3 separate regions of the Homo sapiens genome follow, and regions 2 and 3 are each linked to region 1. The links are contacts of gene promoters, found by promoter capture Hi-C in blood cells and fetal thymus (Javierre and others, 2016). All regions are on one chromosome and are shown on one strand. The core of a region is centred on a gene start or on the middle of the fragment in contact, and the rest is flanking DNA. Distances in the headings are between cores, read along the strand shown.

Region 1 (2,790 bases), core at 98-2,597:
ATAAAGAAAAGTAATTTATTGTCTAGTTTTGGAGGCTGGGAAGTCTAAGACTGACGGACCACGAGACAGCACCGCAAAGTATCACGTGGCCAGGGGGCTGAGCAGGCTCACGAGTTGTCAAGTCTCTCCTTAAAAAGCCACCAGTTCTACCTCCGTGATAACCCATTAATCCATGAATAGATCAATCCACTCGTGAAGACAGAACCCTCACGGTCCAACCACCTCTTAAAGACTCTACCTCTCAGTACTGCCACATTGGGGATTAAATTTCAACATGAGTTTTGAAGGGGACAGATATTCACACCATAGCACTACCTATCTAATACAGCCCATCACGTCCTGGTCAAAATCGATTCCACCATTCTGCTTGATTTTCCTCATATAACCCATCCCTATCTGATAATTTTGTGTTTGTTTCCCCGAAATCACTATCTTGTTCACTGTTGTCTCCCCAGGGACTAGAACAGTGGCCAGTAAACACTTGCTAATGAATAAAGTGCTTAACAAACGTGTCTTGATCAGTCTATCTCGCGTTTTCCCCACGACCCCTCTCCATTCATTCACAGGAACCCGCCAACGTTGCTATCCTTTCAGGAAGGTCCTTGGATCGTCATCGCTATCCCAAAGAGAGTCCGTTCTCCCACTTCAGGCGAGGCATTGCCAGCCTGGAAGCTAACGGGGTCTCAAGGACCGACAGCCGCGCCAAGACCGGGCACTTGCGTCTGACAAGCGCTGAACAGGGGCGGAGAAACAAGGCACCCCTCTACTCGCTTCCTGGAGCCTGCCGCCCTCCCAACCTTAAGCCCTGAACCAGGCTCTCATTTGGCCGCACTCGTGCCTCCCCTGCTGCCAGCACGGCGGCCGGTCCCGGTTACCTGCCTGGGATCTGGCTCAGGCGAACTCTCTTCACACCGCCATTTGAGGGAACACAAATGCCCGCTCTGGGCCACCGTAGTTCACAGAAAGTACAAGCTGGCACCTCCTCCCGCATGCGCAGAGACCGCCTTCGGCGAATAGTGTCTCTTAGCAACGGCTTTGAGTCCCTCCGCCAGGGGCGGAGCCTCGGAAGCCACCACGGGGAAGCTGTAAGGGGAAGTGAGTGAGACCAATCGGAGACGAATCTCTGCCCCGTTCGGCACGCCTCCCTTAACTGTCGCGAATGCAAAGGCAACTTTACGGCAGGCAGAGGGTGGGGGCTGCCGGGGGTAAGGAGGAGAGAAGGAAGCAACCAACCAACCAAGTCGTCCCTACTCCCTCCACCCCCACCCATCCCGGACCTGGTTTACGGCTCCAGGCTCAGGCTCCACTGCGGGCGCTGATTGGTTGTTGAAGGCTTGGTCCCATCCCAGTGACCCCAAAGTGCTGAAGGGAGGGGGCGGGGGTGGCCCAGTGCAAAGTGCATCCCGAAAGCCCCCTGTCCGGAGACCCCACGGCTGGCACTTCGGGCCCCGTATGACCTGGGACCTCGCCGTCCCGAGACCTCCTGGGTCCCTCCGTAGCTGGAAGCCTCCGGCCCGGAGCGCGGCAGCCCCCTGCTCCGAGCCCTGGACCGGGACTGCCCCCCCACCCGAGCCAGGACTTCCTCCCTGCCTCCCTGCACCTCTGCCCCAAGGCTGCCCGGCGGCCGGGATCGCCACCTCCTGCCTTCTCGGCTGTTCGGATGTTCGCCGGGCTGGGGCCGTGAGGCACCGAGGAGGATCAGGAACACCAGGGTCCGGCCCTGCCTGGGGTATTTCTTCAATGGAGAAGTTGGTGAGTGTAGAGGAGGCTGAAAGGAGGAAGAGAAGCAGCAGCTGAGGAGACAGGTAAAGTCCTTTACTTCCCCCGAGGGGAAGAGTGCTGGCTGGGAGGGTAGGAGGGAGGAAAATCTCTGCTTTTTCTTGCCTGCCCTTGCCACTCTCCAGCCCCTTTCCTGAGCTCCCCCCTCCCCACCTCTGAGACACTACACCACTCACTGGTTTCTGTTTTTCTAGGTTTGAGCTGGCTGAAGAAGACGCGAAAGCAGGAAGAGGTCTGCCCACCTATCAGAGAAGCAGAAGGCACAGTGCCTCTGACCAGCATCGTCTGTAAAGGTAATGAGCCAGCCCTCCCCTCCCCCGTTGTTTATTCCTGGCCCCTACCTCATTAAGCAGTGGTTTATTTTCAGGGTGGTTGCCTGGGAATGCAACCTTTCCTACCCCCCCCACCCCCACCCCCAGTTTCCCAGGAAAAACAAAAACATTACCCGTGCCTGATACTTAACATTTTATAACTTCTCTACCCAGGACAGTATTTTCCCACTTTCTTTCTGTACAGTGTGTTTCTGTGTTTTTCATTATCTTTTGGTACACTGTGCCATTTACTCTGCTCTGAGGCTTTGAGACCTTTTTGTAGCTACCCTCCCTTCCTTACTCTCATAGGAATTCCTCAATTCCTTGTTAATTGCTTGTTAATTCTGAATGACTTTCCTTTTTAATTAAACCACAATTTACTGTTTTCCCCCTTACTCTTTCCTATCACCTTTCTTCTACCTGCATCAGAAAAATCTTTTGAGTTATCTAACTGACAACGATTTGGTAGAGAAAGGTAAATTATTGGCCTGAGATTTATGAGTTTCAGAAAATAGTTTGATTTTATTTCCTACTAGAAAGCCAACCTGTGTACCTTAAGAGTGTGAATGGTATGAAGACAACATTATTACCCTGAAGCACTTAGGCATAATTAACTCTTTGGGCTTTCTGTGTGTTTGTGTGTGACAAATGTGGATGGGCTTTGAAACTTATAAAGATACAATGTTTCTTACACCTCAGA
Region 2 (3,148 bases), core at 332-2,831, 660 kb before region 1:
TTTCAGTTTGACCATTATTTGCATATAGAAATGCTACAGATTTTTGTATATTGATTTTGTATTTTGTAACTTTACATAATTCATTTATTAGATCTAACAGGTTTTTTTTTTTTGGTGGACTCTTTGGCATTTTCTACATATAGGATTATGCCATCTTCAAATAGAGATAAGTTTACTTCTTCCTTTTTGATTTGGGTATCTTTTTATTATTTTTTTCTTGTCTAATTGCTCTTGATAGAACTTCCAGTACTATGCTGAAAAGAAGTGGTGAGAGTGGGCTTCCTTGCCCTGTACCAGATTTGAGAGGAAAAAGCTTTGTTTCTCCCCATTGTTTATGATGTTAGCTGTGTCTTTTTGATGACTAGCTTTTATTATCTTGAAGAACTTTCCTTCTATACTTAAACTGTTAAGAGTTTTTTTTATTATGAAATAACGTTGAACTTTGTTGAGTGATTTTTGTGCATCAGTTGATATGATCATGTGGTTTTTGTCTTTCAGTCTGTTAATGTGATGTATAACACTGATTGGTTTGCATAAGTTAAAACAGCCTTGCATGACACTTGATCATGATGTGCAATATTTTTGATGTGTTATTGAACTCAATTTGCTCCTCAAATTTTATTGTGGATTTTCACATCAATGTTTATCAGAGATATTGGCTTGTAGTTTTCTTTTCTTGTGGTGTCTTAGTCTGGCTTAGGTATCAAGGTGATGTTGGTCTTATACAATGTGTTAGGGAGTATTTCTCCCAGTTCTATTTTTTGGAAGTGTTAAGGAAGCGTTGATATTAATTCTTTGAAAGTTTGGTAGAATTCATCTGTAAAGCCATTTGGTCCTGGGCTTTTCTTTGTTGGGAGATTTTAAATTACCACTTCAATCTCTGCTGTAATAGCTCCAATTTCATTTCTTATTTTATGTATTTGAGTCTATTCACCTTTTTACTTAGTCTAGCTAAGGGCTTTTTTTTTTTTTTTCAAAAAACCAACTCCTATTATTATTATTATTATTATTATTATTATTATTATTATTATTATTTTGAGGGGGAGTCTCACTCTGTTGCCCAGGCTGGAGTGCAGTGGTGCGATCTTTTTTTACTGCAACCTCCACCTTCTGGGTTCAAGCAATCCTGCTGACTCAGGCTCCCAAGTAACTGGGACTACAGGCATATGCCACTACACCCAGCTAATTTTTGTACTTGTAGTAGAGACGGGGTTTCACCACGTTGGCCAGACTGATCTCGAACTCCTGACCTCAAGTGATCCACCCTCCTAGGTCTCCCAGAGTGCTGGGATTATGGGCATGAGCCACTGTGCCCAGCCTACTCTTATTATTGAATTTTTCCCTATGGTTTTTCTGTTCTCTATTTGGCTTATTTCTGCTCAGATTATTATTTCCTGCCTTCTGCTAACTTTGGGTTTAATCTGTTCTTTCTCTAGTTCCTTGGGGCATAATATTAGGCTAAATGTTTAGTGTTTAGTTGGAATCTTTCTTCTCTCTCTTTTTTTTTTTTAATGAATTCTCTCACTCTGTCACCCAGGCTGGAGTGTAGTGGCGTGATCTTGGCTCACTGCAACCTCTGCCTCCTGGGTTCAAGTGATTCTCCTGCCTCAGCCTTCTGAGTAGCTGGGATTGCAGATGTGCAGCACCACACCCTGCTAATTTTTGCATTTTTAGTAGGTGCATTTTTCTTGTGGCAGTTCTTGACTTGAAGTCTATTTTATCTGCTGTGATTATAGCTGCACTGCTTTCTTTTGGTTATCATTTGCATGAAATATCTTTTAACCCTTCATTTTCAGTCAGTTTGTCCCTAAGGCTAGTGTGGGTCTCTTGTAGGCAGCATATCCTTAACCTTATTATTAAAAAAAAATCCATTTAGCCACTCTGTCTTTTGATTAAAGAATTTAATCCACTTACTACATTCAAAGTAATTATTGATGGGTAAGGACTTACTACTGCCACTTTTTTGTTTTCTGGTTGTTTTGTAGATCCTTTGTTCCTTTCTCTCTTGTTCATCTTTGATTTGATGAGTTTCTGTAGCACTATTATTATTTCTTTCTCTTTACTTTGTGTATCTGCTATACTTTTTTTTTCTTTGTGGTTACCATAAGGCTTACGTAAAACTATAGACTATTTCATACTGAAAACACCTTAATTTCAGTCACATACAAAAACATTAGACTTTTACCCTCCCTCATTTATATTTCTGATGTTGCAGTTTACATCATTTTATATTATGTATCTCTTAATATAGCTTTTTTTTCTTTGACTATTTTGGTCTTTAACCTTTATACTATCTGTATCTATATATACTTTATAGAACTATATATAACAATATTAGAATATTCTAGAGTTGACTATATATTTACCTTTACCAGTGAATTTTATACTTTCATATGTTTCCATGTTAGTTATTAGTGTCCTTTTATTTCCACTTAAAGAACTCCCTTAGACATCTCTTGTAAGGAAGGTCTAGTGGTAATAAATTCCTTCAACTTTTGTTTGTCTGGGAAAGATTATTTCTCATTTATTTCTGAAGGACAGCTTTGCTGAGTATAGCAGTATAGTTAGCAGTTTCTTTTCAGCACTTCGAATATGTCATTCCATTCTCTCCTGCCCTACAAGGTGTGTGCTGAGAAATGCACTGATGGTCTAATTGGCATTCCCTTATGTGACTTGACATTTTTCTGCTACTGCTTTTAAAATGTTGTCATTGACTTTTGATAGTTTAATTATAATGTGTCTTAGAGTGGACTTCTTTGGGTTGAATCTATTTGGGAAAAGTTGAGCTTTGTGTATCTGAATATCCATGTATCTTCCAAGGCTTATGAAGTTTTCAGCAATTTATTATATAAGCTTTCTTTCTCTATCTTTGTCTCTTCTCCTTCTGGAACTTTCATAATGCAAATATTTGTTCTTTTAATGGCATCCCACAGGTCCTATAAGCTGTCTTCACTCTTTTTCATTCTTTGTTTTCCCTCCTCTGACTAATTTTAAAAGACTCATCTTCAAGTTCAAAGATTCGTTCTTCTCCTTGATCTAGTTTGCTGTTTAAGCTTTCTATTGTATGTTTTATTTTGTTAACTAAATTTTTTAGCTCCAAGGTTTGATTAAATTTTTATGATATCTCTTTTGTTGAATTTCTCATTCA
Region 3 (3,151 bases), core at 286-2,785, 690 kb before region 1:
CAGATGGTCCCCAATTTACCATGGTTCAATTTAAGGATGTTTTGACTTTACAATGGTGTGAAAGTGATATGCATTCGATAGAAACTGAACTTAAATTTGGAATTTTAGTGTTTTCCTGTGCTAGCCATGTGTGGTACAAGACCGTCTTGCAATGCTGGCCAGCTGCAGTGGCTACAGCTCCCAGTCGGTCACTCAAGTAGGAGGGTAAAGAACTGATACTGCGGCCGGGCGGGATGGCTCATGCCTGTAGTCCCAGCACTTTGGGAGGCCGAGGCGGGTGGATCACGACGTCAAAAGATCAAGACCATCCTGTCCAACATGGTGAAACCCCATCTCTACTAAAGAAATACAAAAATTAGCTGGGCATGGTGGCATGTGCCTGTAGTCCCAGCTACTCGGGAGGCTGAGGCAGGAGAATCATTTGAACCTGGGAGGTGGAGGTTGCAGTAAGCCGAGATTGCGCCACTGCACTCCAGCCTGGAGACAGAGCAAGACTCCATCTCAAAAAAAAAAAAAAAAAAAGAACTGATACTCCACAGTGGACTGCCTTGCCAGATGATTTTGTCCAGCTGTAGGCTAATGTCAGTGTTCCGAGCGCGTTTAAGGTAGGCTAGGCTCAGCTATGATGTTTGGTAGGTTAGGTGTATTAAATTCATTTTCAACTTAACAATCATTTCAACTTACAATGAGTTTATGTGGATGTAACCCTATCTTAAGTTGAAGAGGCTGTGTATATGTATGTATGTGTGTGTTTATGTATCATTTCTTTGGAGCTTTTTGGATTTTGGAATTGTAAACAAGAAATTGCGACCCATATTTTCACCCCTATTTTACAGAGGAGGAAACTGAGACACAGAAAAGTGAAGTAACCCGCCTGGGGTCACACAGTAGAGGTCTAAGTCAGGATTCAAAGCCAGCAGTCTGGCCCAGAGCTCCAAATCTTTGGCCTTACAATACTTTGCCACCGCAACAGCGTGATCGGTGACAGGCCCGCTGTCTGTCCTGGGACGGGTCAGCTGAGCCCCCATTCTGAGAGTGAGCCCTCTGGCTGCTTGTTGCACACTGGGCTTGGGTTGCAGGGCTGCAGGCCCCCTCGCTGGCTGGCTCCTGGAAGCGCTGTGCTCCCACAAAAAGCCAGCCAGGCCTGAGGGCTCAGGGCTCACAGGTCCATGGAAATCAGCCCCAGGTGACTCCTTCCCACCTCTGCCCATGAAATGTGCCTCCCAGGCTCCAGGTTTCCCCTGGAATACAGGCCCCTGGTGTTCCCAGTGCTGTACCTGCAGTGTCTGCTTTGCTCTGAGGCCATGGCATTATTGACTTAAAATAAGCTGCTTGGGCTTTTAAAAAACAAAGAATCTGCAGACTCTGTAGCCCTTTTCCTTTCCACCTGTGCTGGGGAGCATGGCAGTGGAGAGGGTGGGCAGGCCGCTTCCTGTTGCGTAGGTCAGGCCCCCCCCAGCCCGCCCTGCTCCACGCTCTGGCCCCTCTATCAAGAGCTATTTCTCATTTTTTCCAAGCATGAGGTTCAGGTGTCTCCATCCTCCCAGGCCCCCGGCCCCCTGCCCAGGGATGCCTTTTATGGGACCATGTCTGCCCTCAACTGGGCCGCCCTCCGAGTTCTCTCCATTTTATTCCCCTGATGCCTGAAGTGGTGTTTGTTTGTTTGTTTGGTTGTTTCTGGAGATCCGAATACACAACACTTGGGGTTGAGGTTTTTTTTTACTTTGCTGGCTGGAGTCTGCTTCTCTAAGGGTGGAGGAGGGAATGAAGAAAAGTCCTGAGCACATTGCTTTAGAAACCTAATCTAGTGTGGTCAAGTGGAAACTCAAGGGCAGTCTGTCTTGGAGGAGAGCGAGAGGGACAGGCAGACAGGTCGTGGGGCTCCCTCTTCTGGGCCTGCCGAATACAACCTGCTCCGCCCATGCCTCACTTGGTCCTTGCAACCCAGGACTCGTGCTTTTCCTCCCCCTAGTTAATTTAGTCCATTATTTTTTCATTCTCCATAGAATATTGGTTTTGTAACACTCAATACAGTTTAATATATACCATTTAGACAAAAGTTCCACCTTACGAAAGATCAGCAAAAATACATCAGCAAAGATATAACTAGTGCATTTATAAAATACATCATAACAAGGAATCCAAACGATCACACACAATAATCTTCACGTTTGACATACTGGTTACAGCCTAGGAGAGCTCGCTAAATGCCAGTGTCTTTGGCAAGTGATTCACATCTGTAAGCTGTAAACCCAAAAATATCTGAGACAGGTCTCAATCAATTTAGAAGTTTATTTTGCCAAGTTAAGGACATGCTTGGAAAAAAGGCACACAAAACCACAGGAACAATCTGTGATCCGTGACTTTTTCCAAAGATGATTTTGAGGGCTTCAGTATTTAAAGGGGAAAAGCGGGCTGGAGGGGAACGAGGGAGGGGACAGTTGCATTACTGAATCCACATGTTGCAAGAAAGAAACAGGTAGGGGAATGGTCAAAAATGTGTTCAATTTTTCTTTCTTTTTATTTTTTTTGAGATGGAGTCTCACTCTGTCGCCCAGGCTGGAGTGCACTGGCGTAATCTCGGCTCACTGCAACCTCCGCTTCCCAGGTTCAAGCGATTCTCCTGTCTCTGCCTCCTGAGTAGCTGGGATTCCAAGCGAATGCCACCATGCCCTGCCAATTTTTTGTATTTTAGTAGAGACAGGGTTTCACTGTGTTGCCCAGGCTGGTCTCGAACTCCTGAGCTCAGGCAGTCCACCCGCCTTGGCCTCCCAAAGTGCTGGGACTACAGTTGTGAGCCACCACACCCGGCAACATGTATTCATTTTGTGGTCAGTAAATTAGCACTTTACCCAAGATAAAGTGAACATAGAGTAGCTACCTGTGGAGATATCTGGCCTTTCATCTGTAGCAATCTGCTTACGAACAGAAGGAAAGGCAGTTTCTTGCACGGCCCAGCCTTCAGCTTATTTTTTTTCCTTTCGGCTTAGTGAAATGGAATCCTGAGATGTTATTTTCCTTTCACAAAGCAGTAACACTGATCAATCCTAACACCTCTGAAATGTTAGTTCTTGATCAGATAAACCCAAAATAAATCAACAAGAGTACTGAAATATGACGAGGATGAAATCCAAAGTTTTTGAAAGGGGCA

Evidence for each region. Contacts are between HindIII fragments. The CHiCAGO score rates a contact against its expected background, and 5 or more counts as called.
Region 2: a fragment that was not itself captured here is called in contact with the fragment with the promoter of ASB7 in region 1 in 8 of 17 cell types (naive CD4 T cells, naive B cells, total B cells and 5 more); the score reaches 11.1 in naive CD4 T cells.
Region 3: a fragment that was not itself captured here is called in contact with the fragment with the promoter of ASB7 in region 1 in 1 of 17 cell types (naive CD8 T cells); the score reaches 5.1 in naive CD8 T cells.

The regions. Positions count from the first base shown.
Region 1 is chr15:100,601,242-100,604,031 of GRCh38, forward strand. It overlaps ASB7 (ankyrin repeat and SOCS box containing 7), which reads left to right and starts at 1,348. Exons shown (of 6, transcript NM_198243.3): 1 at 1,348-1,805; 2 at 1,974-2,072. It overlaps LINS1 (lines homolog 1), which reads right to left and starts at 943. Exons shown (of 7, transcript NM_001040616.3): 1 at 880-943. RefSeq lists an enhancer at 861-1,200 and silencers at 1,371-1,630, 2,081-2,130. The HindIII fragment of the contact is 6,685 bases long and covers 1-2,790 here.
Region 2 is chr15:99,939,211-99,942,358 of GRCh38, forward strand. No RefSeq gene overlaps it. Among named protein-coding and RNA genes, the nearest start is that of LYSMD4, 210 kb to the left of the region's middle. The HindIII fragment of the contact is 2,540 bases long and covers 312-2,851 here.
Region 3 is chr15:99,908,247-99,911,397 of GRCh38, forward strand. No RefSeq gene overlaps it. Among named protein-coding and RNA genes, the nearest start is that of LYSMD4, 180 kb to the left of the region's middle. The HindIII fragment of the contact is 6,298 bases long and covers 1-3,151 here.